Linked DNA regions of Homo sapiens: all the other regions are linked to region 1. The links are contacts of gene promoters, found by promoter capture Hi-C in blood cells and fetal thymus (Javierre and others, 2016). All regions are on one chromosome and are shown on one strand. Each heading gives the region's core, a stretch centred on a gene start or on the middle of the fragment in contact. The rest is flanking DNA. Distances are from core to core; before and after follow the strand shown.

Evidence for each region. Contacts are between HindIII fragments. The CHiCAGO score rates a contact against its expected background, and 5 or more counts as called.
Region 2: a fragment that was not itself captured here is called in contact with the fragment with the promoter of IGSF22-AS1 in region 1 in 6 of 17 cell types (total B cells, naive B cells, total CD4 T cells and 3 more); the score reaches 9.5 in total B cells.
Region 3: a fragment that was not itself captured here is called in contact with the fragment with the promoter of IGSF22-AS1 in region 1 in 9 of 17 cell types (total B cells, total CD4 T cells, total CD8 T cells and 6 more); the score reaches 8.4 in total B cells.
Region 4: a contact is called between a fragment that was not itself captured here and the fragment with the promoter of IGSF22-AS1 in region 1, in 5 of 17 cell types (total CD8 T cells, total CD4 T cells, non-activated CD4 T cells and 2 more). The highest score is 7.0, in total CD8 T cells.
Region 5: a fragment that was not itself captured here is called in contact with the fragment with the promoter of IGSF22-AS1 in region 1 in 1 of 17 cell types (activated CD4 T cells); the score reaches 5.4 in activated CD4 T cells.
Region 6: a fragment that was not itself captured here is called in contact with the fragment with the promoter of IGSF22-AS1 in region 1 in 1 of 17 cell types (naive B cells); the score reaches 5.5 in naive B cells.

What each region holds. Positions count from the first base shown.
Region 1 is chr11:18,704,199-18,708,556 of GRCh38, forward strand. IGSF22-AS1 (IGSF22 antisense RNA 1) reads left to right here and starts at 2,283. Exons shown (of 3, transcript NR_186353.1): 1 at 2,283-2,951; 2 at 3,080-3,195. It overlaps IGSF22 (immunoglobulin superfamily member 22), which reads right to left. Exons shown (of 23, transcript NM_173588.4): 19 at 4,009-4,097; 20 at 3,606-3,798; 21 at 2,716-3,015; 22 at 1,619-1,948; 23 at 114-340. The coding sequence ends at 270. It overlaps TMEM86A (transmembrane protein 86A), which reads left to right. Exons shown (of 3, transcript NM_153347.3): 3 at 1-587. The HindIII fragment of the contact is 1,081 bases long and covers 2,268-3,348 here.
Region 2 is chr11:18,279,972-18,283,771 of GRCh38, forward strand. It overlaps HPS5 (HPS5 biogenesis of lysosomal organelles complex 2 subunit 2), which reads right to left. Exons shown (of 23, transcript NM_181507.2): 22 at 1,979-2,249. Among named protein-coding and RNA genes, the nearest start is that of SAA1, 16 kb to the left of the region's middle. RefSeq lists enhancers at 2,622-2,681, 2,722-2,781. The HindIII fragment of the contact is 671 bases long and covers 2,216-2,886 here.
Region 3 is chr11:18,240,789-18,244,658 of GRCh38, forward strand. The region is part of intron 3 of SAA2-SAA4 (SAA2-SAA4 readthrough); the gene reads right to left. It also overlaps a transcript of SAA2 not described here. Among named protein-coding and RNA genes, the nearest start is that of SAA4, 5.9 kb to the left of the region's middle. RefSeq lists enhancers at 2,994-3,288, 3,419-3,468 and a silencer at 3,014-3,308. The HindIII fragment of the contact is 1,216 bases long and covers 1,291-2,506 here.
Region 4 is chr11:18,301,759-18,305,808 of GRCh38, forward strand. HPS5 (HPS5 biogenesis of lysosomal organelles complex 2 subunit 2) reads right to left here. Exons shown (of 23, transcript NM_181507.2): 8 at 3,664-3,735. Among named protein-coding and RNA genes, the nearest start is that of HPS5, 18 kb to the right of the region's middle. The HindIII fragment of the contact is 3,514 bases long and covers 1-3,268 here.
Region 5 is chr11:18,372,753-18,376,697 of GRCh38, forward strand. No RefSeq gene overlaps it. Among named protein-coding and RNA genes, the nearest start is that of MIR3159, 13 kb to the right of the region's middle. The HindIII fragment of the contact is 1,184 bases long and covers 941-2,124 here.
Region 6 is chr11:18,260,025-18,264,162 of GRCh38, forward strand. It overlaps the pseudogene ST13P5. Among named protein-coding and RNA genes, the nearest start is that of SAA1, 4.2 kb to the right of the region's middle. The HindIII fragment of the contact is 2,389 bases long and covers 1,134-3,522 here.

The DNA.
Region 1 (4,358 bases), core at 1,033-3,532:
TGCCTTGTGGGTGGGTTTGGACTAGGCTTTCAGGGGTCCAGGTCTGGGATTCCCTATCATGCAATCACATCCATCCCCTTGGTCCCTGCTGTATATCACCCTCAGGAACGGGAAAGGATGAGTTACGTTTATTGCCCCATCCCTTCACTGAATGTTTACATTAACAAACACCAGAGAGCAAACTGGGCTTCCTACACTGGGCCATGCAGAGGACAGGCCAAGAAACTCCACATCATAACAGCCTCCTGATGCCTGGGCTTGGCTGGAGCTCACATGAGGTGCTTTGATTTCTTCTGCAGACTCTCGGTGATGGATGCTACAACTGACTTATCATCTTTGTCTGAAAGAGCAAAGGAAGTATTCGTTATATTAATGATGCTGGCGACCAGGGAAATTCCAAACTGCTGGACTTCCTATGCAGGAAACCAGGAGCTGGACCCTGGGACCCTTAATCTTGGGTTGGCAGAGTGTGAAGGGGCAAGAGCTGCCATTTATCTAGCACTTAATATTTGCCAGACATTGTGCCAGGCAGTTGTGTACTGTCTCATTTAAGCCTCATAGTCCTATAAAGAAGATGAGAAAACAGGCTCAATGAGGTAGCTTACTAAGGTCACATGGCTGGTCAGTGGCAGAGCCAGGGCCCTGGGCCCATTTGCTGTGCTTACAAGCAGATTTGAGTTATCAGGGATCTCTTTAGCTGTGGAATGAAAGCTGGATAGCACCCACAGTGCCTTCCCTGGCCTAGTTCTTTTACACAGCTCAGCAGCCTCTCTGGAGATATTGTCTCAGTGCCAGACACTTAGCTAAGCACTCGAGAGACAGAGCAACAGGACAAGGTCCTTTCCCCAAAGAAAGGTATCTATAACTGGATAAAAAAGGTCTGTAACCATGGAGACCACAGCAATGGAGTGTCATGGAAGGTTCAGGAGTAGCAGAAGGTGAGATGAGAGGTGGGGGAGGGGGAAACCTTCTTGGTTTGGGATTTTACCATGAGAGGAAAGCTGGGGGAAATTTAAGCAACAGAAAGCAAGGCAGGCCAGCTTTGCATTTAGAGTTCATGCTGCTAGCTGTGTGGCTATGAAGACAGTAGACTGGGAAGGAATAAAATGCTTCCCCCTATGTGTGCACACATGAGTAGAAACATGGCATGCATGTACAAAAGGGAGGGTTCCCTTCGCTCCTTCCCTTGTTTGTGCCCCCCACCGGTCCTTATCCTAGACCAGTTTTAATTTTTATTGCACATCAGAATCACCCGCAAAATTTTGTAAACATATAGGTTATTTCCAGAACCGTGCCAGAGAGATCGTGATTGGTGAGTCTGGTTGAGTCCTGATCACCAGTATCTTTTTTCTGAAGGCAGGTCTAGGCTCACCAAGAGTTGCAAACCACATCTTATCTAGGGATTGAGAACTCTCATGTCTGCAGGGGCCAGGCATATAACAAATGACATCGAAAGGATGGGAGAGTGGTAAGAACTGTGGCCAATTAAGAATGTTTGCACCACCTGTTGGCAGTCAGATTAAAAAACGGTGCCAGCCAAATAGTTGACCAATGGCCCACAAGACCAGCCTTTTGCGCCTCTCCCCCTCCTCGAGGCCGGACCCCGCGGCGCCCTCACCATAGACGGTGAGCGTGCAGCTGCTGCGGTCCTTGCCCAGCTCGTTCTCCACCAGCACGCTGTAATCGCCGCTGTCCTTGAGCGTGCAGGTGGGGATGACGAGGGTGCACACGCCGCTGGTGGAGTTGTACCAGAACTTGGAGTTGGCCGTGATGTTGACGTCGCCCTTGTAGAGGGTCACTGTGGGCCGCGGGTTCCCAAGGAAGGCGCAGGTCATGGTGCAGTCCTGGCCGCGGAGCACCGTGTGTGGCTTGAGGGGCGTCACGAAGCGCGGCGCGTGGCGCCAGTCCTTCTTCTCGTAGGGCTTGAGCTTGGCGCTCAGGTCCTGGACTGCGCGGGCGGGGCGGGGCAGGCCGTGAGGGCGCCCCAAGGCCCCCACCCACCACCCACGTCTTACAGTTCAGCTTACACGGAACCCCGAGGACCTAGGCCACATTCCCAGCGCCACCAACTCTGGGGGCCCAATGTTACACTGGTTCTTAAGGGCTCCCCACCCGCCCCCAGGCCTCCCCCGACCCCCCAGCCCCGTCCCCAGCCACTCCAGGGTTCTGCCACCCAAACCACGCTTTCCCACACCCCTGGGGCCGAGATGTCATTCCAGCGCCAGCTTCCTGGACCCGGTTATTCCCAGCCTTTAACTCCGCCTCCAAGCTTCCCCTACGTCATATCAGCGACCACAGTCTCCCCTCTTATCCCTTTAGCTCCTCAGTTCGAGTTTCCCGACGCGGCCCCCACCCTTAACCCCTAGCCTCCAGGGATCCCAGACATCCTCCCGGCTCCCTAGAGCCCTCCCCTGTTCTCAGCCCCGTTAGACCCTCCCCTCAGAGCAGAACGCGTTTGCGCTCTATGTCCCTCCGCAGCCCCTCCACCGTCCTCTCTGCCCCCAAAGGTACCTCCCCACCTCCACTTTAGTCTCACCCCTAAGTACCCCGAAGAAAGCCAATATTTCCTTCTCTCCGCAGCGTCCCAGATATTAACCGTTCTATCTCAATGGTTTTCAGATTTTATCTTGCCTCTTGGGTACCCTTTGGGACCCTTATGTCATCCCCACCATCAGGGCACCCAGACTTAACCCTAACTGCAAGTCCCAGACTCACTCTGGTCCTTATTGATGAGCCAGGTGTCCCTGGAGTCAAGTGGCTCACTGTCACCGATTTCATTCCGAGCCACCACTCTGAAGTAGTACTTCCTGCCTGGGAGCAGCCCCGTCACTGTGTACTTGTTGCTGAAGACACGCTCGGCTGCCGTGTACCAGGTGGCTGTGCTTGCATCCCGCTTCATGATGATGTAGTGAGCCTCACCGTCCTCCTGCACATCTGGGCTGTGGTTCCAGGTCAGAGTCACTGTGTTGGGGACTTCCTCAAACAACCGTAGGTTTGTGGGGGGCCGAGGGAAATCTGGAAGAGTTGGAAGATCTGTCAGCGACCTTGGGGCACCTGAAGTATTATGTCCCCACCCCAGCCATCTGCCAAGTCCGATGGAAGATAAGATGGGGCAAGTCTCAGGCAGCTGGTGTCTTGGAGTCGGAAAACTATTTCTGAAGTCTGCTCTGCCATTTACTAGCCTCGTGACCTGGGGTAAGTTACTTATCTGAGACTTCTTTCCTCAATTGCAAAATAGAGCTGACAATGACTATTTCGTAGAAATAGTGGGTAAAGAGACTGGCATGTAGTTACTGTTCAGTAAAAATGAATCCATTCCTTCCTTGGGGGTTTAGAGCTTTATTTTAAAGCTTCCAGCTCTCTTTAAGCAGTCACCCCAATTTTTAATGGATTCATCTCCATTTGTCCCTCCTGCCCCTCCACCCATTTCTACTCTCTCTGCCGACCATACTCTGTATGATAAAGTCTTGCTCTGTGGTGTCAAAGAAATCTTCATGGCCCTAAGGCATGACTTTCCTGTGGTAGGAACTCAAGCGGCACTGGGGAGCTGTGCTTTGGAGAGTGTACAGGGATGGGTCTTGGAGGCCTCTGCCTTCTCTCCATACCTGCCACGCGCACATGGATGTCATAGCGTGCTTCTCCAAACTCATTCTGAAGCAAGATTCGGTACACCCCTGAGTCAGAGCGCTTGGTGCTATTAATGAGGAACTGGGAGTGGTTTTTGCTCTTGGTAATTGTCTCTCGGCCCTTGGTGGGAACGCCATCTTTCTGCCAGATCACGTCAGGTGGTGGTGAGCCCTGAGTAGTGACAGGAGATGGCACAACTGGTCACACAGATGATATTTGGGGGCAGGCCTTCCTCCATTGTCGAGGAGTTTCCTGCCAGGCTGTCGCACTAGGGGTCTGGTGAGGGGCAGAGTCAGAGTCAGAGTCAGAGACTGTGATGGCTACAATAGCCATCTTGGTTATGTGGACAGTGTATGGAGGTCAGGGTCAGGGACAACTCACAGAGAAGGCTGCATGGATGCAGAGGGCTGTCCCAGCGCGAACCACCATGTGACTCTTCAGCCGGGCACTGAGGTCAAACTTGGGTGCAGCTGAGATGGAGGAGACAGAGGTGGAGGCATGGATCTGTCTTTCAAGAAGACTCTGCTTTAAGCCTCCTCATCAAAGCCTTCCCAACCTCTCCTCCTTTATGCCCCCACTACAGGCCATACAGACATCTAGCTGCCCTGCAACCCTGTGAAGCATTTATTTGTTTTCTCATCTGTCTCCTTCTACTAGTACGCAAGACCCTGGAAGGCAAGTCCTTGTGTCTTGTTTCTATAACCCTAACACCTCCTTTTGAAATTGCCATT
Region 2 (3,800 bases), core at 1,301-3,800, 420 kb before region 1:
ATTTAGTTGTCATTGTTCATTCTTCACAGAAAACTTAAAAACTACAGAGTTTCAGAGGATTCAAAAAGTTGACTGATTCTGTGCATTAAAAGACACAATGCACAGAGTGAAAAGGCAACCTACAGAATGGAAGAAAATATTTGCAAATCATGTATCTGATAAGAGGTTAATATCCAGAATATCAGAGAACTCTTACAGCAACAACAACGAAAACACCCAACCTGATTCAACATGGGCAAAGGACTTGAATAGCTATTTCTCCAAAGACAATTATATAAATGGTCAATAAGCATATGAAAAAATGCTCAACATCTCTAATCATTAGAAAAATGCAAATCAAAACCACAATGAGATATATAGTACCTGACACCCACTGGGATAGCTACTGTTTAACAAAAAACAACAACAGAAAATGACAAGTGTGGGGCTAGCACATGGAGAAATTGGAACTCTTGTGCACTGCTGGCAGGAAAGTAAAATGGTGCAGTCTCTACAGAACAGTATGGTGGTTCCTCAAAAAATTAAAAATAGAATTACCATATGATTCCAGAATTCCACTTTCAGGTATATACCCGAAAGAACTGAAAGCAGTGTCTGGAAGACATATTTGTATACTCATATTCATAGCAGCGTTATTCACAATAGCCAGAAAGTGGAAGCAATTCAAGTGTCTGTCAACAGATGAATGGATAAACAAAAGGTGGCATATATATACAACGGAATATTATTCAGCCTTAAGTAGAAAGGAAATCCTGACACATGCTACAACATGGATAAACCTTTAGGATGCTATGCTCAGTGAAAACAGGCTGGTCACAAAACGACAAATGTATTAATTCCACTGAGATGAGGTATGTAGAATAGTAAAATTAATAAAAACAGAAAGTAGAACTGTGGTTGCCAGGGGCTAGGTAGAGGAAGTAAGTTGCTGTTTAATGGGTGTGGAGTTTCAGTTTTGCAAAATGAAAAAGTTCTAGAGACTGGATGCAAAACAATATGAATAACTTAATACCACTGAGCTGAATATTTTTAAATTGTTAAGATGATAAATTTTATGTGTATTATACCACAAAAAAAAATTACTGAGACATTAGGTATCTGGTACCAGTAATTTTTTTTTTTTTTTTCAGAGTTTTGCTCTTGTTGCCCAGGGTGGAGTGCAATGGCGTGATCTTGGCTCACTGCAATCTCTGCCTGCTGAGTTCAAGCGATTCTCCTGCCTCAGCTTCCCGAGTAGCTGGGAATTACAAGTGTCTGCCACCATGTCCAGTTAATTTTTTTGCATTTTTTTTTTTTTTTTTTAGTAGAGACAGGGTTTCACCATATTGGTTAGGCTGGTCTCGAACTCCTGACCTCAGGTTATCCACCTGCCTCAGCCTCCCCAAGTACTGGGATTACAGGCATAAGCCACCGTACCCAGCCAGGTACCAGTAATTTTTTTGTTTTTGAGATGGAGTCTCGCTCTGTCACCAGGCTAGAGTACAGTGTCATGTTCTTGGCTCACTGCAACCTCCACCTTCCGAGTTCAAGCGATTCTCCTGCCTCAGCCTCCCAAGTAGCTGGGACTACAGGCACGTGCCACCACACCCAGCTAATTTTTGTACTTTTTTTTTTTAGTAGAGATGGGGTTTCACCATGTTGCCAGGATGGTCTCAATCTCTTGACCTCATGATCCGCCCACCTCGGCCTCACAAAGTGCAAGGATTACAGGCGTGAACCACCACGACCAGCCTGGTACCAGTAATATTTTTAAAGAATCAAGGACACATCAGATTATTCAGGTTAATCTGAACAGCATCTTGGTCATGGCTGTGAATGAAATATTACTTTAGCCTCTTCCCTTAATTACCACATCAGTCTCAGTCTCCTCATGTTAGTGATGGGTCGGGACTAAATGATCTCCACATCTACATCTGAAAGTCTGTGGCCTTCTACCTTCTCCAAGCACTATGCAGAGGGTAGGACAAACTGATATTACCTCTGCCTTTTCTCAGCAATCCTCAGGATATCGCAGGTTCTGGTAAACTTCTCTGACAACTCAAGGGCCAGACCACATTCCTGTAGCAGTGACCAAGCCCGATCTGGGCCCATGGCCTTAGCTAACAGAAGTGCCACATTCTCCACATTGATGGGGGAAGGCCCATCACTGAGGCTCCCATTTAGTGACTCCTGGGGGGCTGGCCTCGTGCTCTTGCTCTGTATGAGATGAAGGAGAAGCTTCCATTCCTCCACGGTCTCTGGGATCCAACCTAAACACACACAGGGAAGTGTCAGTTTGACCACTCTTAGCACACTGACTGGATACAGGAGATGGTCAAAACTGTGAAAATGTTTAATGCCAAAACGTAAAAATATTCAAGAACACAATCTCATCACCCTAACACAAGTTGTTTTCTGAAAATTTGTTGTATAAATTGTTCATGAGAAAGAGAAGCCACAAAATTAACTTTAATTTTTTTCTTTTTTTTTTTTAAAGAGAGACAGGGTCTCACTACCATGTTGCCCAGGCTGGTCTTAAACTCCTGAGCTCAAGCAAGCCTCCCACCGCAGCCTCCCAAAGTGCTGGGATTACAGGCATGAGCTACCACACCTGGGCAGCTTCAGAATTCTTTCAACCACTCAGTAATTACCCAGGGCATATCCTATGCTAAGCACTGGATATGTAATGATGAACAGAAGAGACACAATCCCTGTACTCTTGTGGAGCCTACAGTCTAGTATAGGAGACAAAACTTAAACACGTAAGTATATACTTATAAAGTATGCTAAGCACTATGAAAAAAAAGAACAAGGAAGCATCAGAGAGAATGGCTGATTCTGCCTGGAAGATCTGAGAAGGGCTCTATGAGGAAGTGACATTGAAGCAGAAAGCTAAAAGATGAGACAAGCTTAGAGGACATATGCATGGGGCCCACATAATGTGAAAACTTGGAGTAGGAGCCATCAGAAATAAGGGGCCTGCATTTCTGATAAAGGAAACATGGAAGACAATGTGACACAGGAAAGAACTTGACGAATTCAAGGAATTTTTCTTTTCCTTTTTGTTTTGAGACCAAGTCTTGCTCTGTTGCCCAAGCTGGAGTGCAGTGGTGCGATCTCAGCTCACTGCAACCTCCACCTCCCAGGTTCAAGCAATTCTCCTGCCTCAGCCTCTCAAGTAGCTGGGATTACAAGCATAAGCCACCATGCCCAGTTAATTTTTGTATTTTTAGTAGAGATGGGGTTTCACCATGTTGGCCAGGCTGGTCTCAAACTCCCGACCTCAGGTGATCTGCCCACCTCGGCCTCTGAAAGTGCTGGAATTACAAGCGTGAGCCACCGCGCCTGGCCAGAATCATCTTTAATTAATGGGAAATTAAAAAAAAAAAAAAAAAAGAGCCTAAGCACAAATTTTGGAGGAAGTCCTTGGTCTGAACCCCAGCTCCAGCATTTACAATTAGTAGCTGTGTGACTTTGGGCCAATTAACTGTCCCTTCTGTACCTCAGTTATCTGGAAAGTGGAAATAATAGTAACTATCCCCAGAGTTTGTTATCTCATTTAAAACAACATATGGAAAGCACACAGTATAGTGCCTAACACATAGTAGGCACTCATGAAATAGAAAAGTTGCCTATAGTTTATTCTTAATTGTGATTTCATAACATATCAAGGGCTATAGGTAAAAAACAAAAACAAAAACAAAAACTCCACAAATGTGACAACTAAGTGGAATCACATATTAAATATATGATCATTGAAAGGTTCACCAAATTTTTTTGTTGAGAGGTCTGGAGTAACTTCTAAAAATTGACAACCAAGA
Region 3 (3,870 bases), core at 649-3,148, 460 kb before region 1:
TCTACCAAACATTGACCTAGTCAAAGAATTTATGACTAAGATCTCAAAAGCAAATGCAGCAAAAAAATATATACACAAGCAGGACTAAACTAAACTAAAAACTTCTGCACAACAAAAGAAATAGCCAACAGAGTAAACAGACAACCTAAGAACGGGAGAAAATATTTGCAAACTACTCATCTGACAAAGGACAAGTACCAAGATTCTACAAGGAACTCAGACAACAAGAAAAAAGGAAATAACCCCATTAAAAAGCGGGCAAAGGACATGAACAGGTATTTTTCAAAAGAAAACATACAAATGGCCAACAAAATATGAACAAATGCTCAACATCACTAATCATCAGAGTCACAAATTTAAACACAAATTTAATCACAAATTAAAACCACAATGAGATACCATCTCACACAATCAGAATGGCTATTACTAAAATGTCAAAAAAACAACAGATGTTGGTGAGGATGTGGAGAAAAGGGAATGCTTATACACTGCTCATGGGAATGTCAATTAGTACAGCCTCTGTGGAAAGCAGTATGGAGATTTCCCAGAGAACTAAAAATAGAGCTACCATTTGACCCAGCAGTCCCATTACTGGGTACTACCCAAAGGAAAATAGATCATTATATAAAAAATATACCTGAATGCATGTATTTATCACAACACTATTATTCACAGTAGCAAAAATATGGGATTAACCTAAGTGTCTTAGGTTAATCAACGAATGATTGGAGGGGTGTGTGTGTATGTCTGTATACACATATATACACCATAGAATACTATTCAGCCATTAAAAAGAATGAAATCGTATCTTTTGCTGCAACATAGATAGAACTAGAGGCCATTATCTTAAGTGAAATAACCCAGAAAGTCAAATATCACATTTTCGCACTTATAAATGGGAGCTAAATAATGTGTACACATGGACATAGAAAGTGGAATAATGGACACTGGAGACTCAGAAAGATGGAGGGCAGAAGGGGGCCGAGGATTGAGAAATTACCTGACAGGTACAATGAACTCTACTTGGGTGATGGTTACACTAAGAACCCAGATTTCACCATTATGCAATCTATCAGTGTAACAAATCTGTACTTGTACCCCCTAAATCTATAAATAAATAAATGAATGAATATTTTAAATAACAATAATAAATGCTGAATGAACACATGGAAGCACATTTCTGAACGTTTGAAATAATTCCTAATTCAATGACATGTTTAAAAATAACAAGCAGCTCAATTTGCATGTAGCATGAGGCACATTAATTAGTCATAGGAGATAAGACTGAAAAGCTTGGATACCCTATTAGTCAGGGTTCTTGAGAGACACAGGACAAATAATTTATTTGTGTATGTATGTATGTATTTATTTATTGTAAGGAATTGGCTCACAAGATAATTGGGGCTGAGAAGTCCCACGATCTGCCCTCTGCAAGCTAGAAACTCAGGAAAGTGTAATTCAGTCTGAGTTCAAAGGCCTGAGAACCAGAGCAACTGATCACGTAAATCCAATTTGAGGGCAAGAGAAGATGAGAGGAGATGTCCAACTCAAGCAGTGAGGCAGGGGAAAAGGGAGGCAAATCTGTCCTTCCTCTATTTTTGTTCTATTCAAGCCTTCAACAGATTGGGTGATGCCCAGTTGCATTGAGAATAGCAATCTACTTTATTAAGTCCAATTCAAATGTTAATCTCCTCTGGAAACACCCTCACAGACGACCCCAGAAACAATGTGAATCTGGGCAGCCTCAAACCGACACAAAAATAAATATAACAGTAGGCTGGGCTCAGTGACTCATGCCTGTAATCCCAGCACTTTGGGAGGCTGAGGCAGGCAGATCACTTGAGCCCAGGAGTTCAAGACCAGCCTGGGTGACACGGCGAAACCCCATCTCTACAAAAAATATAAAAATTAGGCAAGTGTCATGGCGCACATCTGCAGTCCCAGTTATTCAAGAGGCTGAAGTGGGAGGATCTCTTGAGCCCCGGGAGGTCGAGGTTGCAGTGAGCCATGATCATGCCATGGCACTTCAGCCTGGATGAAAGAGGGAGATGCTGTCTCAAATAACGAAACAAAACAAAACACAACTATAACAAAGAGCAATGCAATTTCCCTTTCTCAAACTTTTCTAACAGAGAGAAGCATGTTAATTCTTACTGAGGAAAACCAAGTAATTAATAAAAGGTATTTGGGTGTGCCAGAGCATAGGTATTAGGTGTGACTTTACAAATTATAAATTCCTGGGTAAACCAAGCACCTTTTTCCTTGGATACAAATTTCGATTTAAAAATTTTTTTCTTGTTTTTTTTATACTTTTTCTTCCTCTGAACCTATGGACTATATTGAATTAAATTTTTTTTCAAATTATAGATTTCAAGAAGGGGAGTGATTTGGTCCTTTACAGACGGATGAATGAATTTCTGTATCCAAATGTTGCTTCAGTTAATTATTTCTAGTAATAATATGTTGATTGCAAAGTTTTGAATATCTACAAAGACTAGACTTTGAAAGCTTGCTTTATTTGACTTTGAAAGCCATTCTTTCTCTCATCCTCCCTTTCTCTCCCTCCTGCCCCCCAAAATCTACAACTTCAGTACTTGTGACAGAAATCTAATTGTAAGCATTTACAATTGCTATTGTAATAATAGCATTACAGTCTTTTTTTACAACTTGGGGTCAACTCAGACTTTACTAGACTGAACACTAATCTCAACAGTGCATTGAGTCTGCTCCCATGAGCCAATCTTCCACGCCTCTCTCCATCTTATTTATCTTGCCCTTGCCTTGTTTTGGCATTGGCACATCTTTGAGACTCAGACTCAAACCTCCTATACCTCCTATACCTACACTTCTATTAGTGTCTTTTGATGAGAACTGTATGAGAAAGTTCTGTTGTAAATAGTTCTACTTTATATCCATACATTTTCTTCCTCCTTGACAAATAAATTTGTCTTTACTCTGTAAATATAATTTTATAACTAGTCTTCTCACCTTAGGAGTCCTCCTCAATCCTTTTTCAGAGAAAAGGGGTATGCCAGTTATCAGTTTCTTTATTTTCAGCTCCACACCCACCCCTTTGTCCTATTTGTGATGCTGGAGCTGGACCCTGTGAACATTTCTCCTTTGCCAGTTGGGCATGATGTTAATCTTCACCCATAGAGGGCGCTAGAGGGCCAAGCAGGAGATGAAGACATCTTTTCCTGTTCTTTTGTGCTTTGCTTCCTTTCAGCTCCTGCAGTACTCTTCTCCTGTACAGGACAACCAGTGGCACTTGCCCCAGAGATCTGAGTGGCATCCCAAGGCCAAGACAGTTTCCTGACAATTTCTGTGGCACCTCAGTAGGATGTCCATGATGTTTACCAGCAGCCCACTTATTTTAATCAGCTTGGGCTGCTGTAACAAAATAGTACAGCCATGCTGTGAGTTGGGGTTTCAACATATACATTTTGGCAAGATACAGTTCACTCCAGAGCACTGCCACTTCCACAGCTGGCTTCCCAGGGGTTTTGATAACCTATCTCCTGCCCCCAAGCAGTTTCCCAAATTTGTCACAGGAACCCTAGCTGCATTCCCAGAGTTAAGTTACACCCTGGGTAGCTTCCTGCCAAGTTTCATTAATACCTCAATGGAGTTCTTATATGTCAGTTTTGGCTTGAAGGACCCAGTAAACTATTTGCCATCCAATGTCAGTCTTGTGAGGGGCCCAATCTCAAATTTATACCTTCTCATATTCTGTACTCTTAGAAGTTAATGCTGCTCTCAGTTAATAATTCTTTATATTAAAATTTCCCTTTTCAAATTACTGCCTGGTTTCTGTCTCCCAAAGGGACCCTGACTGATAAAACAGTTCTTCTCTATCTGGCTCTCTCTCCA
Region 4 (4,050 bases), core at 262-2,761, 400 kb before region 1:
AGCCAGTCAAGGTAGATATACTATTCTTATTAAAAAGAGAAAAAGCTAAGGCTCAGAGAAATAAAATAATATACCAAAGGCCATTCAGCATGAAATGTATACGAGTCAGAATTTATACTGGATATGCAGGATAGTCTGGCTCCAAAACCTGGACTTTTTTCCTATATAACACAGAATCTACTTCCTCCTCCACTTATCTTCACTAACCTACTCACTATTATCTGGAATCCTAACTATTCCACTTAACTGAATTCTCAAAAAGTCACAGATTCCCAAACTGCCAAACCCAATAACCCTTCATCACTTCCCATTTTCTTAACCCCAAGCAGAAGCCAACCCTGCTAACTGTTCTCTGCTTCTTGAACCTCACCTCCTGGGGCTCCTGGACACTGCATTTTCTTGGTTCTCTTTCTCTCCAGTCCTCTGGTCTGGAGGACTCATTTTTTTCTCCTCATCTTTTTCTATACTTACTCATATAAATTTATCTCATATATTTCATTTATTCTCTCAAGGCTGCTACTATTTTTTATATACCACTGGTAATCTCCACTTCCTAATGCTGTTCAGGACATTCTCCAACTTACAATGTTCTTAATCTAGCCACCTCTCAAGGATCAGAAGTTCTACTTCCCTCTGAAATCCTCCCTTACAGCCCACAACACTCACCCTATTTCTTGCACTCAACCTATTTCTTATACTCTGCTCATATGGCACTTAATCATCTACTGCACTGTCACAACTCTTACTTCTTATTGTTGTTAAACTTTTTGGACAAATAAATCATATCTCTCTAATAAATTATACTCTGAAGAACAGGGACTATATTTCTTTTTCCTTTATGTTTCCAAGAGTACTAAAAATGGTTCCATGTGGCTATGAAACTAATTGATTTTTAACAGGAGTTGGGCCCTCATGTAAGTGTTAAACATTTTGTCAATATGAAAGACCAGATCACTATCCCTACAGGAAAGTAATCTTTGTCATAAAATGCAAGAAATGGTCAGAATCTGAATCCAAAGTAAAATTGAGAAGGCTGCCTTCAAGAGTCAAAGGAGAAAAAAAGCGGGGGGGGGGGGGGTGTCAGAGGATCCCTGAGAAAGAGATACAGGATCATAATTTTGATACTGAACCTGACATTCAGCTTGGAAAATTCCTTAGGAATAGCAACCTAGATTAGATGGGGGGCTGAGGACGGGAACTTAGATAAAAGCTGATACTTGTAATTTATACATTCCTTGTCCCCTTATCCCTTCACTGATAATAAATGGGGACATAAGCCTAACAGCATTGTTTTAGAAGTTCCAGAAAGGAATGTGCCTGAAAGGAAACAAAGTACATAAGGATGCCCCCTCTGGGATTTATGGGTTGCAACAGTAAAAGTCCCATAGGGCACAGTGTACGAATGAAAAACATAAACAAACAGGAATGAAAAGAAGCCCTCCTCTTCATGTTTTCGAAAAAACTCTTTGTTGAATTCACTATCATTTGAGGGTTTTCTATGTGTCTAGCACTGCCCATGAAAAGGAGTTGACAATCTGATGCTGGGATGCATACTCATAATACAGTAAGACAGTGGCAATGATAAAGGAATGAATATGGTTTGACAACAGTACATGCACAGAAATAGGTTGTCTAACGTAAGCCTCTTTGAGGAATCAGCAGAAGTTTCAAAGTGGCGTTAATTGTTGCTTTAGCTGAGGAATAGGCAGAGCCAGATCATCAAAGGCTTTTTGTCTACCATGGTAGGGACTATAACAGCAGCTTTAAATAGCTACAGCCAAAAGAATAACTCTACCAGGAGAGCTAAGTGTATTGTGGCCCGACTACTAGAAAACATATTCTTGGGTACTTTGGGAAGCCGATGCAGGTGGATTGCCTGAGCTCAGGAGTTCGAGACCAGCCTGGGCAACATGGTGAAACCCCATCCCTACTAAAATACAAAAAATTAGCCAGGCGTGGTGGCGTGCGCCTGTGAGTCCCAGCTACTTGGAAGGCTGAGGCAGGAGAATTGCTAGAACCTGGGAGGCAGAGGCTGCAGTGAGCTAAGATCGCACCACTGCACTCCAATGTGGGTGACAGAGCAAGACTCCGTCTCTAAAAAAAAAAAAAAAAACTTGGGTAAGGGACTTCCCAATACCCCGCACATCACATCATAGTCAACAAATATTTATTAAGTATCTATCATGTGCCAGGCATTAGGCCAAGCATTGAAAAAATAATAGTCAACAAAACAGAAATAAAGCCCTCATGGAGCTTACTGTTTAGGGTAAGACATGTATAAATATTATATTAATATGTAATTATAAACTGTGACAAGTGCCACAAAGGAAGAATGCTAAAGGAGGAAGAGTTTTTAATATGCTTTATCTAATTATGGGTAAATAAATAAATGTCTTTCTCTAGTAACTTTCATGAAGAATTATGGAGTTACTAAAGTGTTATAATGTCTATAATTCACTTTTTTTTTTTTTTTTTTGAGACAGAGTCTTGCTCTGTGGCCCAGGCTGGAGTGCAATGGCACGATCTCGGCTCACTGCAACCTCTACCTTCCAGGTTCAAGCGATTCTCCTGCCTCAGCCTCCCTACTAGCTGGGATTACAGGAGCATGCCACTATGCCTGGCTAATTTTTGTATTTTTAGTAGAGACGGGGTTTCTCCATGTTGATAGGCTAGTCTTGAACTCCCGACCTCAGAAGATCTGTCCGCCTCGGTCTCCCAAATTGCTGGGATTACAGGCATGAGCCACACCCGGCCTTATAATTCACTTTTAAATACTTCAGTGTAGGAAGTATGACAAATACATGAACTGGTTTTTATCCTTACCCTTAGAGGCAATTAGTTAACACTTCAATTATTTTTAAAAATCACAAAGAGTGGTTAGTTAGCCTTTCAAAGAACTGAATCAGGTGTTCACACTCCAGTGTACCATATGACAACTTCATACAATATTTGCTGAATTTGCATCAGAGATCTTGTTAACTAGCCTAAGGGATATCAGAAGTAATTTTTTATTGATGAAATAGAGTTCAAGATATTGGCTGGAAATCATACACTGGTACTCTTGCTCTTGCAGAACAAGGTGTAAGAATTGGCAGGTCCAGCAGTTTAACAACTTTTAGGGCAGCACTTTGTGCTGGACTTTGCACCTAATCCAACTAGAAGGCTGGCTGAACTCTGACATTAGAATATGGCTGAAACTGCCTCCAGCAGATCTTTCATGCAAGCATTTGTCAGAGTACCTATAGGATAGAGAGCTGAAATTTCACCAAGCTTACAAGAACAAGTTCTACAACTATTTTTGTGCCTGCTTGCTAAAAACACATACATCTGTGTGGCAGATTTTGATCTGGGACTTGCTTTCATTATAGCATCCCATTAGGTAGGAGAGGTTATGAGGCGGTTAGTAGAGCTATCTTAGCTCCAATTGTTAGAAGTTTCTTGGCAATTATAAACTCTCCAATTGGCTTGGAAAGAGAAGTGTATTTCTAGGATCTTTCCATTCCTTTTAGATACAGAACACTTCATGTAACATAATTATTTCCTAACTTTCTATAAGTAATTTAGTGCAAAAATAACCTTAAAAAACTACTTCTGAACAAGAAACAGAGATAAAAATCTAAGTATTCTTTTTCCCCCCCAGAACTAAGGAAAGTAGAAACTTACCTAAGATGTAAGAGTTTGGGGAAAGACAAAGACTGGGAGGATCCAGCTGTATGATCATACTGAGGTTCTGATCTAGAAAGTAAACACATCTGTTAATGAGTTTATCTGTTAAAAGTATAACATAAAATTACACTTTTCCCAATATAGGGAAATTTTTGCCTCCAAAACAAATTCAAGAGCCTAACTGCATCTGCCCTTATTCGCCTGACACTAATCATAGGAGAGGTAATTATCAAAGACTTCTTTGGTTTTTCTGAATCTTTTAATAAAAATAAAAATCCAACTTCACTCTGAAAAGATAGAATAAAATCTTTTTTTTTTTTTTTTTTGAGACGGAGTCTCGCTCTGTCACCCACGCTGGAGTGCAGTGGCACAATCTTGGCTCAC
Region 5 (3,945 bases), core at 283-2,782, 330 kb before region 1:
TGCACCCTCTTTCTTTCTCTGTCTCTTTCTTTCCCCCCGCCACCACCACCCCCCGACCCGACTTTAGTTTCTTAATTTGTAACATGAGCATAATAGTAGTACTTACAGATTTACCGTGAAGGTTAAATGAGCTAATATAGAATAGTGCCTGGCTCAAAATGACCGTTCAATAAATGTTCTTTCTTTTTTTTTCTGAGAATAAATGTTCTTTCTATCATTTATTACTATTACAGTCATATATCACTTAACAATGAGGATATGTTCTGATAAATGGATCGTTAGATGAGTTCATTACTGTATGAACATCACAGACTGTACTTATACTTATTCCTCCCGCCTCGGCCTCCCAACATGTTGTAGGCTATACCTCCTGGATGGTATAGCCTACAAAACATAGAGGCTATGTGGTACAGCCTATTGATTTGAAGCTATAAACCTGTACAGCATGTTACTATACAGAATAGTGTGAAGAAATAGTAACACAAGAGTATTTGTGTATCTAAACATAGGAAAGATACAGTAAAAGTATGGTACAGTATTATAACCTTACAGGACCACCCTTGTATATGCAGTCCATTGTTGACCAAAACATTATGAGGCTCATGACTCTATTATTATTACTTACCATTACCAGGCTTCAGTTCAAAGCTTATTGACTTAGGGCCAGGCGCAGTGGCTCACGCCTGTAATCCCAGCACTTTGGGAGGCTGAGGCTGGCGGATCACGAGGTCAGGAGACCGAGACCATCCTGGCTTACACAGTGAAACCCCGTCTCTACTAAAAAAAAAAATTAGCAGGGCATGGTGGCGGGCGCCTGTAGTCCCAGCTACTCGGGAGGCTGAGGCAGGAGAATGGCGTGAACCCAGGAGGTGGAGCTTGCAGTGAGCCGAGATTGCGCCACTGCACTCCAGCCTGGGTGACAGAGCGAGGGGAAAAAAAAAGCTTATTGACTTAGGCTGCCATATAACAACATTGGTAAAAAGCTGAGGTAGAGATCAAGGGAAAGAAACTCTTATTAGTTAGTTTACTACTATCTACTATCTATTAGATCTGTTTGCCAAATATTTGCCATGCTATATGACCATTCTTATTTCATCCTCAAGATTCATTCAATAATTATTAAGCTACTGTGCATCAGTATACAGCCTTCTACTTATAAAGTCTCAAATTGACTGGGTACAATGGCTCACACCTGTAATCAGCACTTTGGGAGGCCAAGGCAGGCGGATCACCTGAGGTCAGGAGTTCAGGACCAGCCTGGCCAACATGGTGAAACCCCATCTCTACTAAAAATACAAAAATTAGCTGGGCATGATGGCTCATGCCTGTAATCCTAGCTACTCAGGAGGCTGACGCAGGAGAATTGCTTGAACCCAGGAGGCAGACATTGCAGTGAACCGAGATCACACCACTGCAGTCCAGCCTGGGCAACAGAGTGAGACTCCATCTCAAAAATAAATAAACAAATAAATAAATAAATAAAAGTCTCAATTTATTGGTCAGGTGTGGTGGCTTTATGCCTGTAATCCCAGCTCTTTGGGAGGCCAAGGCATACGGATCACTTGAAACCAGGAGTTCGAGACCAACCTGGGCAATATGGGGAGACCCCTGTCTCTACAAAAAATAAAAATTAGCCAGGTGTGGTGGCACATGCCTGTAGTCCCAGCTTCTCCAGAGGCTGAGGTGGTAGGATCACTTGACCCGGGAAGTTGAGGCTGCAGTGAGCCATGATCATGCACTGTAAGGTGGACAACAGAGACCCTGTGTCAAAAGTAAAAATAGAAAGCCTCTGGTTATTAAAAAGCATTGTCCTGGCCAGGCACAGTGGCTCATGCCTGTAATTCCAGCACTTTGGGAGGCCAAGGCAGGTGGATCACTTGAGGTCAGGAGTTTGAGACCAGCCTGGCCAACATGGCAAAACCCTGTCTCTACTAAAAATACAAAAATAAGCTGGGCGTGGTGGTGCACACATGTAATCCCAGCTACTCGGGAGGCTGAGGCACGAGAATAGCTTGAATCCAGGAGGCGGAGGTTGCAGTGAGCTGTGATCGCACCACTGCACTCCAGCCTGGGTGACAAATAAACAAATCACTGTCCTAGATGATGGGCAAAATGCCCTCGTGAAGCTTACTTAAGAATAAACAGGCTTGGAGAGATGAAAAGCCCCTGCATCCAACTCGGGATTGGAGAGCTAAGATTCAAATTCAGCTCTTGAATGCAAATTCTGTGCATCTACTGACCTCTCTCTCCCTACCCTCCTCACTCTCTCGCTAACCTCCTCACTCTCTCCCTAACCTGATCTTGCAGGCTGGAAATTTTTCTTCTACCTGATATAAATAATTGGGAGCAGGAGAGCTATTTTATTTCTATCAGGCCTCACACTGACAAGCACAGATGGCTCTGAGGCTGAGACTGCTTTATTCTCCAAAAGTGCAGTGAAGGAGATGGATTACTGGATCTGAAGTCACTAGGGAGGCTTGAATTCTGCTGTTGGTACCGCTAAGCATCCATTATGCACTAGGCCCTCAAAAGAATTCAAAGGGCCATTACTGTGTTTTTTTCTCTTGGCTTTAGACTTTTCAAAAATTAATTTTGTTTTTTTTAGCAACATTTTATGTGCTCATAATTTAAAAAGTGAAAAGCACTAGAAGGCACATTTCAAAATACCACGTCCACTATCCCACTCACTGCCCCCTACCCTTTATTCTCTCTTCACTGAATCAATTACTTTCCACTCTTTTAGCTGACAGTATACCATTCTTATTAATTTTGTTATTTTCTACTGACTTTCTATTATGGTAGTTGAAGATTTAGTGTTCTTATAATACCATTACTCCTTTCCCCTCGACTCCAGGCTCCTGATATAGTTATTTCACAGTTTTTCGATAATTAATAGTGTTTACATTTTGATTATGTGAATATTGTTTAGTGGTTGAGACAGGATCCTGGCAGGATACAAATGGCACCCTTAAACTGGGTTATTTGAAGAGATTAAAGGGACAATTTACAAAGGTGTGGGCGGCATGTCCAGAAACCAAGCAAAGGCCTGATGAGGGAATGGGAAGAAGTTAACAGGAGAGAAGAGAGACCCCTGAGAAGAGGTAAGGGGCAGGGTCTGCCCATGGTCCTGCAGAGAGGGTGCAATCTCACTCTTCTTCCTCACTCCCAGTCTTCACCAGTGAAGGTGGAGGACAGGAGACACCATGGCTGTGTGGTCCATTCAGGTCAACCCCCAGAGCCCAGAGCAGTATGGCAAAGAGAAATGTAGACCTGCAAGGCAAAAAGATGTTCAGAATTACAACCAGGCAGAGTCAACTATAAAACCCTCAGCTGGGCTGGGCATGGTGGCTCATGCTTGTAATCCCCAGCAGTTTGAGAGGATCACATGTACCCCAGGAAGGTTGAAGCTACAGTGGGTGGTGATCACACCTCTGCATTCCAGCCTGGATGACAGAATGATACCTTGTCTCTAAAAAAAAAAAAAAAAAAATAGTATTTATGGGACTTTTCTCTGAGGCTGTTCAGTCTCTCCAAAGAAGGGACCTCCAGGTTTCGGGAATGTAAGCCTGGATGCCACCCTTCTGGGAATCACCTGGGGAAGGGAGCTCTCTGTATACAGACAATCTCCTATGCCCCAGCGCTCTCACCATTGTGCTTGGGCCCTGATTGCATTTCCTCAGAAAATAAACCTGTTCTCACTTAAGGTGGAGGCAGGAGGTAGCCATTTTGTTTCAGGGTGGGAATAGAAGTCTGAGAGCCTAGCATTTCCTTATAGCCCCTGTTACAGCCCCACACTTTACCCTTCCCTTCCATGGTACCTGGTACCTCCAATTCCTGAGACTGAACAGTGCTCTTCAGAGCAAATCAGCTTCCATCTCTTCACTCCCTCCCTGTGTGGGCACTTGAATTTCACTATGGTCTCAGTCTCCACTGATTTCTACTTTC
Region 6 (4,138 bases), core at 1,078-3,577, 440 kb before region 1:
TATTAAGCATGTGTTGAGAGTACTCCTTGCCTACCTTCACTAGCCACTGTTTCCTTCCCCTCCTCCCTTGTCCCTTCATTCTCTCCAGAACTTTCTGCTAACTTCCATTCTCTTCAGGACTTCAGCATGGTTGGGAGAAGATCAGAAAGGCATCCTCACTGTTTTTATTTTAGTCCACTTGACCTTTGGGGAGTAGTTCCACTGGCTCATAAGTATCAGCCCCCCATAGCACAGCACCCCACACTGAGCCCGGAAGCAATAAAGAATCCCAATCTGCTGTCACTAACCAGCACGCTCAACTGCCATGCCCTTTACTCTTCTCATCTCCCTGCTTTCACGTCACACCAACTAATTTCTCTATGAGTCAGCCTCAACTCTCCCAACACTCTGCCCACCCTTCTTCTACTACCTTCCAGTGAGCTCCTCGAAAGAAGGGTCTGCGGTGAGGATGCCCCTTTATCTCTGCCTATTTCCTTCCCATTACAAAAACTTGAAACCTGCCTTTCCCATGTTGATTTCACTTTATTCTCATCTTTACCCATGGGGTATGCCTCCTGCAATTCCTCCTAGACAATAGAATGAGAAAGAGGGGTCCTCGTCCTCTTTGCTTTCCATGACCATTTCTCCATTCTTCACCTCTGTGATGTGTCCTCTTTGAAGTCCCTGATAAATTCATTACCACCTTCTCTCCAGTCTTACTAATGTTATCTGCACAAGTGATTTCCAAACAGGAAGATTTTCAAACACTGATTCCTGAAGATCACCCCCAACTCGCTGAACTGAGACCAAGACCTCCAAGATTATGGCTTAGGAATCTGCATTTTTTTTTTTTTTTTGAGACAAGAGTCTCGCTCTGTTGCCAGGCTAGAGTGCAATGGTGGAATCATAGCTCATTGTAACCTCAAACTCCTGGGCTCAAGTGATCTTCCTGCCTCAGCCTCCCAAGTAGTGAGGACAACAGGAGTGTGCCACCATGCCCAGCTAATTGTTAATTTTTTGTAGAAATGGAGTCTCACTATGTTGCTCGGGCTGGTCTCAAACTCCTGACCTTAACCCATCCTCCGCCTCCGCCCCCAAAAGTGTTGGGATTACAGGTGTGAGCCACCGTGCCCAGCCTAGAAATACCCACTAGAAGCTTCTGTGTAGACAATCTGCTTAGTGATGTTTGGAGACAAAGTACCTCTTTATTGTATTCATTGACAAAACTCTCCAGTCCTCTCCCATCTTCATGGAAAATTTTCACAGTTCATTTACGGCCCTCTTTCCAACACATTCACTGCCAATACTCTTATTGACAATAACTGTATTGTTGAACCTTCCAGTATCCTGCATTCCCGGATCAAGGCCCCCTCAAAGCCCTGATATGCAAATATCTGGGAAAAGAATGTTCCAGAGGAAAGGAACAGCTAATCCGAGGCCCCTAGGGTAAGATGTGCCTGGGGGTTTGGAGACCAGTGTGGCCAGAGCAAAATGAGCAGGAGGAGAGAATTGGATGATGAGGTACGAGAGGAAGGAGTTAGGACAGTTTGAGTAAAGTTTGAAAACCATTATAAGGGCTTTGACTTCAACTATGAGTGGAAGTGGAATCCTCCGGAGAGTTTTGAATGGAGAGTGATAGAAGTTGTCTTGTGTTGTAACAGTCTGGCTGCTATACTGAAAAGAGACTAGTTGGCGGCAAAGGGGGAAATGTGGAAGCCAGTTAAGAAGCCATCATAACCCAGAAGGTGATGCCTAATAACATCTCTCTGGGAGCAGCGGAGAGATGATAAGGGTTTGCCTTCTGAATATGTTTTTTGACAATTAATGTAAACATTTCAAGTAGGCTGAGATTTTATTGCATATTAACAATGTCCATGTTCACTCGCGGCAGCCGCCCCCTTCTGCGCGGTCATGCCGAGCCAGCACCTGGGCCTGGAACTGGGCCGCAGCCCCCAGCTTCACCCACCACCTCCCTACCATGGACCCCTGCAAAGTGAACGAGCTTCGGGCCTTTGTGAAAATGTGTAAGCAGGATCCGAGCGTTCTGCACACCGAGGAAATGCGCTTCCTGAGAGAGTGGGTGGAGAGCATGGGAGGTAAAGTACCACCTGCTACTCAGAAGGCTAAATCAGAAGAAAATACCAAGGAAGAAAAACCTGATAGTAAGAAGGTGGAGGAAGACTTAAAGGCAGACGAACCATCAACTGAGGAAAGTGATCTAGAAATTGATAAAGAAGGTGTGATTGAACCAGACACTGATGCTCCTCAAGAAATGGGAGATGAAAATGTGGAGATAACGGAGGAGATGATGGATCAGGCAAATGATAAAAAAGTGGCTGCTATTGAAGTCCTAAATGATGGTGAACTCCAGAAAGCCATTGACTTATTCACAGATGCCATCAAGCTGAATCCTCGCTTGGCCATTTTGTATGCAAAGAGGGCCAGTGTCTTCGTCAAATTACAGAAGCCAAATGCTGCCATCCAAGACTGTGACAGAGCCATTGAAATAAATCCTGATTCAGCTCAGCCTTACAAGTGGCGGGGGAAAGCACACAGACTTCTAGGCCACTGGGAAGAAGCAGCCCATGATCTTGCCTTTGCCTGTAAATTGGATTATGATGAAGATGCTAGTGCAATGCTGAAAGAAGTTCAACCTAGGGCACAGAAAATTGCAGAACATTGGAGAAAGTATGAGCGAAAACATGAAGAGCGAGAGATCAAAGAAAGAATAGAACGAGTTAAGAAGGCTCAAGAAGAGCAGGAGAGAGCCCAGAGGGAGGAAGAAGCCAGACGACAGTCAGGAGCTCACTATGGCCCTTTTCCAGGTGGCTTTCCTGGTGGAATGCCTGGTAATTTTCCCGGAGGAATGCCTGGAATGGGAGGGGACATGCCTGGAATGGCCGGAATGCCTGGACTCAATGAAATTCTTAGTGATCCAGAGGCTCTTGCAGCCATGCAGGATCCAGAAGTTATGGTGGCCTTCCAGGATGTGGCTCAGAACCCAGCAAATATGTCAAAATACCAGAGCAACCCAAAGGTTATGAATCTCATCAGTAAATTGTCAGCCAAATTTGGAGGTCAAGCATAATGCCCTTCTGATAAATAAAGCCCTGCTGAAGGAAAAGCAACCTAGATCACCTTATGGATGTCGCAATAATACAAACCAACGTACCTCTGACCTTCTCATCAAGAGAGCTGGGGTGCTTTGAAGATAATCCCTACCCCTCTCCCCCAAATGCAGCTGAAGCATTTTACAGTGGTTTGCCATTAGGGTATTCATTCAGATAATGTTTTCCTACTAGGAATTACAAACTTTAAACACTTTTTAAATCTTCAAATATTTAAAACAAATTTAAAGGGTCTGTTAATTCTTATATTTTTCTTTACTAATCATTGTGGATTTTTCCTTAAATTATTGGGCAGGGAATATACTTATTTATGGAAGATTACTGCTCTAATTTGAGTGAAATAAAAGTTATTAGTGCGAGGCAAACATAAAAAAAAAAAGTCCATGTTCATCTCTAAATGACATCATTGTTCCAAAGCTTTTCCATTCTTCTTAACCTTCCACCTGTCAATCTATAGGAGATGACTTCTCCTACTTCACTCATGCATTGACTCCTTCAATCAATAAAAGTGACTAAGAACCTGCTACAGGTGAGGTGCTGTGTTTGGTGTTAAAGTGACAACAGTTATCTGTCAATAAGCCTGACAAGGTTCCTATCCCTGTGTTTTGTGCACTCTGGGTCAAACTCAGAAATGCAAACAGGTGGAGAGCGATGAGTTCTATGACTGGTAAAGAAAAGGGCCTGCTGGTTTCCCTCAGGATCTCTGTCCTTCATCTCAAAATGCATCTTCCTTGTTATCGTTCCTCTCCTTCCTGTCTCAGAGGAAGACCTGCTCCTGCTACACTCTGGGCAACCTTGTCCCCGTGGCCCTGTGGCCCCTTGGTTGTTGAAGTCTATGTTATGCCCTATCTTTTACCCTCAGTCACTCTCTCTGTTAACATTCTCCCTGTGCCCTGTAACCCTCCCTCATCTTTAAATAAATCCTCCTCCTTTGACCTTCGCATGTATTCAGTCATGCAACTCAACAAGCATTTATTGCACAGTGATATTCAATTTGCCACTTGCTAAAAGTCTGAACCTTGGCAGCTGAA